Linked DNA regions of Homo sapiens: region 2 is linked to region 1. Evidence: promoter capture Hi-C in human tissues and cell types (Jung and others, 2019). All regions are on one chromosome and are shown on one strand. The core of a region is centred on a gene start or on the middle of the fragment in contact, and the rest is flanking DNA. Distances in the headings are between cores, read along the strand shown.

What was found. The method cuts DNA at HindIII sites, captures the fragments that hold promoters and counts their contacts. A contact is called where the count stands out against the background at its distance.
Region 2: the fragment with the promoter of DTX4 here is called in contact with the fragment with the promoter of RTN4RL2 in region 1 in 1 of the 25 tissues and cell types used here (neural progenitor cells).

The regions. Positions count from the first base shown.
Region 1 is chr11:57,458,983-57,462,612 of GRCh38, reverse strand. RTN4RL2 (reticulon 4 receptor like 2) reads right to left here and starts at 2,085. Exons shown (of 3, transcript NM_178570.3): 1 at 1,717-2,085. The coding sequence starts at 1,747. RefSeq lists an enhancer at 1-373 and silencers at 1,809-2,078, 3,178-3,237. The HindIII fragment of the contact is 24,381 bases long and covers 1-3,630 here.
Region 2 is chr11:59,170,334-59,173,963 of GRCh38, reverse strand. It overlaps DTX4 (deltex E3 ubiquitin ligase 4), which reads right to left and starts at 1,832. Exons shown (of 9, transcript NM_015177.2): 1 at 1,158-1,832. The coding sequence starts at 1,368. LOC124902601 (basic proline-rich protein-like) reads left to right here and starts at 519. Exons shown (of 2, transcript XM_047427951.1): 1 at 519-699; 2 at 1,234-3,630. The coding sequence starts at 519. The coding sequence ends at 2,042. LOC124902675 (a long non-coding RNA gene) reads left to right here. Exons shown (of 4, transcript XR_007062682.1): 4 at 1-265. RefSeq lists enhancers at 766-875, 318-1,146, 1,774-2,068, 2,155-2,695 and silencers at 1,216-1,265, 1,326-1,895. The HindIII fragment of the contact is 18,272 bases long and covers 1-3,630 here.

The DNA.
Region 1 (3,630 bases), core at 836-3,335:
GGCCCCTGTAGAAGAAGGAACTTGAGGAGAAGAAAACTGGACCCAAAGTAGGGGGCAGGATCCAGGCTACCCACCCACAGGGCAGAGTCGCTGGTGCAGAGTGGTCCCAGGAAAGGATGCTCCCTGGAAAGGCAGCAGAGGCCTCTCGCTCTGGAAGGAGGGGCACAGGGTCCCAGACGAGAAGCAAGGGCTCCACACCCAACGGGCTGCTTCAGGGAAGGGCTGGGGCCTGCGGGCAGATGCTGAGGGGGCAGGGGCTGAGGAGGTGGGAGCTGAGGAGTGGGATGGAGGTGGTGGTGATGCCAGTGACGCAGGGGCCTGGGGAGGCACTGACGCGGGTGACGGAGGTTTAGAGCTGCTGCAAACAGCTTCTCACTCTGCCAGAATGTAACACCCCAAAATAAGCAGCCACCGTGGTGGCGGCAGCGGCTGCAGAATCCAACGTCCAGGCCGGATAAATAAATGGCAGCACAGGAGCCAGCCTGTTTGCCCACCCTCGGAGGCTGTCACTCCCCTTCCAAAGTCCTCACCCTCTGTCCCTCACAGCCACCCCCAGGGCCCTGAGCTCAAAGCACCCCCCATCTGGCCCACCAGCCACTCCCTGAGAGAAGAAATGTGGCAGGCAGGCGCTTTGGGAATGGAGGGCTTCCCACGTGGAAGTGGTTACCAGAAGCCTCTTTGTCTCATCCCTGGGCAGCACCCCCAATCCCCAGTCCCTCTCTCTCAGCCTTTCTCTTCCTCCTCCTCTTCCCTCCTCTCCAGCCCCTCTCCCATCCATGGTTCCCTGTCTCCAACCCTCTTCGCCGGTTCCTGATACCCCTTCTCTAGTCACCATCCCCATCCTTCTCTGGTTTCTGATCTTTCCATTCTCCTTTTCCATTCCAGTCCCCAGGGTCCCAGTCCTGATTCTCTTTCCCGCTACCTCCATCCCAGGATTCTGGGTCCCTGTCCATAGTCTTCTTCCCATCCCTCCCCTGATCTGGTCTTTCCTCTCCTTCCCTCTTCCTTGGTCTTCACCTGGGTCCCACTTCCCTCCACGCTTTTCCCATCTAACCTTTATTCCTTCTCCCCCTCCCCCGCTCCATCTCCCTCCTCCTTTGAGCTTCCCTCACCACTTTCTCCATCTTTGAGTTCTCCTTCCTATCCCTCTCCCCCTGACCCCTCCCCACCCCACCCCCAGTCTCTGGCCCACACCCTTATCTGTCACTCAATCAGTAGAACTATCCTCTTTCTAGCGCCCTCCATCTCTCCTACCAGAGAGGGCCACTTGGATTTCCCTCTGCGCCTCCTACCTCCCCAGACAGCCCCCTACCCACATCTCCTGTCTTCCCAGGTGGCCAGAAAGTGCTGAGGCACCGGGCAGGAGGAGTTGCTGAGTCGGCGCTTCCCCAGCCGGCCCGAGTCCTCAGCGTCCCCCGGAGCAGGTGGAGCGGGGACAGCGGAACCTGAGCCTCCCTCCCCGCTCCGGGCCGGGTCCACCTGCCCCCTGCGTCCCACCTCGGTCACGAGCTCCTCGCACGCGCCCGCGGGCTCCCAGCCAAGTGCCCTCCTGCTGAGAACAGCCCTGGCGGCGGGGGCGCGGCCCCAGCGCTGAGCTTTTCCCCTTCCCCAGGTTACCCCACCTCCCCAACTGCCCCACCCTCAATCCCTGAAAGAGGGGACGCCCTGCTTCTCTCCCCAGGATGCCCTCCGCTCTCCCGCCGCTGGCGTTCTTACCTTGCAGCAGGCGCCTGAGCCCGGGCAGCATCTTGTCTCGATGCTCGGGGGAGGGGGCAGCGGGGGGAGGGCGCTCCCACTCGCTCCCTGAGCCCGCCGGATGCACGGCGGGGACCCCGCGGGGCTCCGGGAGGGCCCGGGAGTCCCCGGGCTGCGTGGCCGGGCCGCGGCGCTCTACCCTGCGCCGCCCGGGCTGCGGGCCTCGGGAGGAGCCATCGGCCCCGACGGGACGGGGCGGGGCGCGACGGGGCGGGGAAGGCTGGGGCTGGCCGTCGACGCCCAGCGCCCGCGCCCCGCTAGCTGCGCTGTCCGCTCGAGAGTCCGTCAGTCCGTCTGTCCGTGTGCCCAGGCTGCTAGCCGAGGGAGAGTGGGGACAGCGAGGAAGCTCTTCCCAACCACCCCCACTCCTTCCCGCACTCGCTGGCTCCTCCCTCGTTTGCTGGCTTGCCGACTTAACCCTTTCTCGACCACTAGGAGGCGGGAGCGGCTTTCTAACCCCCTCCACCCCGCCCCCCTCCCCCCCGCTTAAGCGACCCGGAGGACTGTGTTCGATCGTCCTCGCGGCGCCACTCTTCTAGAGAAATCCCTTCTTGGGGGAATGCGGTAGTTTAGAGGAACGCCGTGGACTTGTCCTGTTCCCCCCTCCCAACTTTCCAGGAGAAGATGAGCTTCTGGGTCACCCCCTCCCCCGCCCCCAGCCGCGTCCCTCGCGCCAGTGTCCCAGCCTCCAGCATTTCTGTCCCCTGGGACAGCTCCAAGATTCCACTTTTCCTTCCACTCCCAGACCTCAAGCCCAGTGTGCGACTATAAGAATAGTATATGCAAGAGTTTGTGCGTGCAAGATCGAGTGCATATGAGCGTGCACGTGCGCGCAAGGATGCTTGTGCAGGTGTGACTCAGGATGCTTGCCCGTTACCCTTTGTACGGGCTTGGGGAAGCGGGGGGGGGGGCACGTGAGTGTGCACACGGGTGAGCCGCTGAAAGTCCGCCAGCGTGCATGTCTGAGCTGGTGGGAAACGTGAGGCTGTGCGAGGTTTTGCGCTTGCGATCTTGGGGATGGGTGGAAAGAAATATGTGCCCGGTGTGTGTATGCCCCTTAGTGCATTTACAAGCGGGTGCGAGATGGGCGCGCGTGCGAGTGTGTGCGTTTTTTTGTGTATGTATGATGTGTCCGGGAGGGGAGACCTTATCTCCCGCGGGGGTGCAGGAGAGGACCCAAAGCTGGGGAGAAGACTGTTGGCTTCGCGTGAACTTCCTCTACCCCCTTTTAAAGAGGGGCGGATTATGGTCTCACTGGAGCCCCTCTGGCCCTTCATGGCCTGGTCACAGGCGGTATCAGCAGACCCATCACCTAGGCACTTCCCTACAAAGGCTGCAGGGCGGTTGACCCAGGTCTTGACTCGGCCCGGCGCGTCCGCGGAGCCGCCCCGGCGTAGGATAGGCTCGGGGCCCTCGGGGGAGCCGCTTCGGGTACGGTGGCCAGGCAGCGCTGGCGGGGTTGGGGCTGCTGGAGCCTCAGGTGCGGCGGTGCCGGGGCTGCTGAGCCCCCTGGGCTGCCGCTCCCGCGAGCACAGAAGCCCCTCGCCCCGCTGCCCGCGCCGCGGCTCCTCCTTTCCTATCCGTGCCAGGGTCCAATGCAGTGCCTGGCATACAGTCGGCTCTTGATAAATGTTGGTCTTATTCTTCCCATTCATTCTCTGCTCCCTCCACGGTCTCTCGTTCTTCTCGCGTTCTCATTCGATTTCTCTGGTTTTCTCCCCCGACTCTTACTCATATTTCGTGGTCTCTGTCTCTCTGTTCCCTCCCTCCCTCACTCTCTCTCGGACCTTTTCTGTCTCTACTCGTCTGTTTCCCTGCCCGGTCTTCTGTCTTTCTCACTGTCTCTCTGTGTCTTCGTCTCTCTCCTCCTCCCCG
Region 2 (3,630 bases), core at 583-3,082, 1.7 Mb before region 1:
ACCGGCCTCTCCAGGCTCCTCGGTTGCACTCTTGGGAAAGCCGAGCCAGAATTCCAGAAACAATGGCCCCCTCCCCACCTGTCACTGACGGAGGCAGAAACTCTTCCCGGGTCATCGATTAAGCAAGGACCGAGCAAAGAGAGGCAGTTTTGCTCTCCCTTGGGCAGCACCCCCACTCCCCACCCCCCAAGGCCCCATCCTGGAGGCTCCCTTCCTGGCTCTGACCTGGAAAGGCAGGTCAGCTGGGAAGCGGGTTTGTGCTGGCTACAGTGACAACTTGATTCTCATGAAAAGATAGGAGTTTGGCGCTCCAGGAGACCATGGGTTCCTTACAGGCTATGGTTTCAAGAGGAAGCCTGGGGACAGTTTCTCCTTAGGAATCTGCGTCCTCCTCCTCCGCAGACAAAGGGAGCGGCTTCCCTGCCATGCATTCCGAAGCCCCGAGCCTCCCCCTCCTCTCTCCATCTGCTCCGGCCTGTTGCTTCCGCGCATGTAGTGTGTAGCAGAGGCATTCGCCAATGCCGCGGCGTCCAGGGTACCCCAGCCCTAGTCTCTCCTCCCAGGGAGCCCGGCGCTTCCCTTACCCGACTGTAGCGAGAACCTCCGGGGAATCCCTTCTTCCTCCCCCAGTTCCCACACCCAGGACCCAGCTGCGGGGAGGCATCCCACACAGGAGACGCAGAGGCAGTGAGATCGGGGGTGAGGGGACGTGTGGCAAGCCCCAGCGTGCCTGAAGCAAAACAGGGTCAGGTCAGCCAAGGTGCCGGCCGCCACGGGATGAGGGCAGGAAGCCTTTGCGAAGGGCTGGGATTGCCTGTAGTCTGGGGCGGCCCTAGAATTTCTACATAGAAAGACTTAGGGCCACCAACTGCTGAAAAGCGGGGGCATGAAAGGGGTGGGGAGTGGATTGTTACCGACTAGGTTGAAGCTGGGTTTGCAAAACCACAACACTGATACTATTTGCATGGATGTTTAAGGGGGAGGGAGGATCCTGCGAGGATTCAGCGGAGTGAATCGCCTCCCACCACCACCTCTTGGTGACACTGCTGCACAGAAGTGCCGACTAGGTGGCCAAGGTGGGTTCACAGGGAGGGAGGTACCTTGGCAGGTTGGGAAGGTGGGAGCAGGCGGGGCGGGGTCAGGGGCGGCTGGCTCACCCGTGTCTTGGCGGAACTGGTTCATGGACTGCAGGTCGATGATGTAGGGCGCGAGACGGCTGTCCACCTGGCCCAGCACCACGCTGCCCCCCGCGCGGGGGCCGGCGCGGACCACCGCCTCGATGTGGTGGCTCACCGCTGGGCTGTAGGGACGCCAGCGGCCGTGCTCGTTCAGCCATTCCCAGACCACCACGGCCGAGGCCAGGAGCATGGCGAGCCCGGGGCTGCGGCGCTGCGCGGCCCGCCTCCCGGGCCCCGAGCGCCCGACCTCCTCCGCTTCCTCCTGCGCCGCCGCCTCCGGGCCTCGACCGCGCCCCCTGCCCCGCGCCCCGCCGCCCCGGGCAGCCTCAGCTCCGGCCCATGGGCTCCTCCCCAGCCGTGCATCCACCGGGGCCGGGACACCGGGGCCGCCTGGCTGGGACCGCGCGCCGCCGCCGCCGCCGGGGTCCGCTGCTGCTGCCGCTGCTCTGTGGGGTCGAGTCGCTTCATGCAAATGCCCGGCTCTCTGCAAACAGGCCCCCGCCTTGCAAAAGCCACTCGGCGGGCGCGCGGCCCGAGCCCCGGCGGCCGCGAGCTGGGGCTGACGGCGAGGCAAGGACCCAGCCCTCGCACCAGTTGCGCCTCGGCCTCTGCAGACGCCGGGGTGGGATCTCGCCGCACGGCCGCGCTCGGAATGGCACGCTCTGGTCCCCTCCCCTCTCTCCCTCCCTCCCCACCCCTTCGCCGCACGAATTGCAGTCCCCGCCGCTGGGAGAGCTCCCCCTGCCTGTGGCTCTGCTCAGTTCCTTCCAGAATGAACCACCCCTCCCAAGCAGGGCGCTAAGGCAAACCCGCGCCCGCGTGTGTTTCCCTGGTTCCTTGATGCAGAGAAGCGACCCGCCATGACACGGCCCCGGGACCACCACTGTCGCCCAGCCGCAACTTTGCAGCCTCCTTCCCCCAAATGTAATTTTCTCTCTCTCTCTCTTTTTTTTTCCTTAATGCAGCATGATCAGTGTCCGCAGCGCGAACTGGAGACACGCATTGTCTCGGGGCTTGCGCACGCACTGGCACACTCACAGTCGCACACACACGCGCGCGCACCCCAACTCCTTCCTTGCCCCGGCTCCTATTACCTCATCCTCTCCCGCATCCTTAGCTGTCCGTCAAGGAAGCAGAAGACACGCCCCCTGCTGCTCGGGCGAGTGCCCTGGAGCTTACCCGCCCCCTGCTGGCCTAAAGTGTCGTGTGCCGGCCAGTGGCCACTCCAACCTCTGCTAATGAGACCCAGTCCAAAGGGATGCAGCAATTTCGCTAATGATGGATTTATATTACCTACGTAGAGAGCAAATGTGGTTTTTCTGGCCAGATTCAACGTACTAGAGTCAGGAAGACGCATGTTAGATTAATTTTATCTGCATCGTTTCTGTAACTAAAATTATGAAACACTAGGAAAAACACGAGTTAGACTTATTTTGATCATCAATAGTTAATATGGAAAATAACCTTAAATAGGTAGGTTCTGACTAAAAGGGAAGACTGAAGTCAGGATTATGCATTATCCTTGTCAAAGAACACAAATTTTGTTTTGTTGAGATTGCAAACCACATAAAACAACGAATCGAGTCTTATCAAGATCCAAGTTATAGGATGCGGGAAAGTAAAAATAGATTATGTGTTAGAGAATGGGATTGTGAATCTTTTTGAAATAATCAATTTTTTCATAAATATCATATGACCCTTTTATGTTTTAGAAGAGTTGCTTCCCCCTCCCTCTCCTTGCAGCTGTCATTTCTCCCATTGTTAGAATTTTGCATCCTTCTACCTTTATCTTTCTCCCAACAGAGTTCTAAATACAAAGCAAAAGAAAAAGTGTGAGATCTGTTCTTCTTCAGGCCCCTAAAGGCACCAGGCTCAAGGAACCTCTGAGCTTTGTTCTTTCTGGTCTTCTTGCACAGCTTGGCCTCCAAAATGCCTAGTCGGCCTCTCCCTTATTTGGGGACTGTTCCTAATCCAACCTAAACAATACCACTCATTAAAATGTCGAGTTTCAGAATTAGAAGAACAAAAAGAAAACAAGGATACCTCGACTAATTATATCATAGGCCATTATTATTACCATTTTACAAATGACAGGACTTAAGGAATTTAAACTATTTGCCCTAGATTACATAGCTAGTTAGAGGGGAAACCAGTATTCAAAATTTAGTTGGGCTGTCTCAAAAGAAAATGCCTGTTCCATAGCATGTCCTATACAACACAGAGGTGGCACAATAACAGGCAATGTAGAAGTGTCTCAGTGTGAAAGAAGGGAAGGGAGAAAATGGGGGTAGAATTTTCTGGAAAAGAAACAGAAGGCAAACTGAAGAAAAAGTAATTTAAAAATTTATTGGGCTACTTTTATTTCTAGTCATAAAAATGGAAAGTATCAAAACTCAGGAAACTTTCTTATAGTCTTGGTAAGTATGAATCAAAAAGTGAAGAGTAATGATTC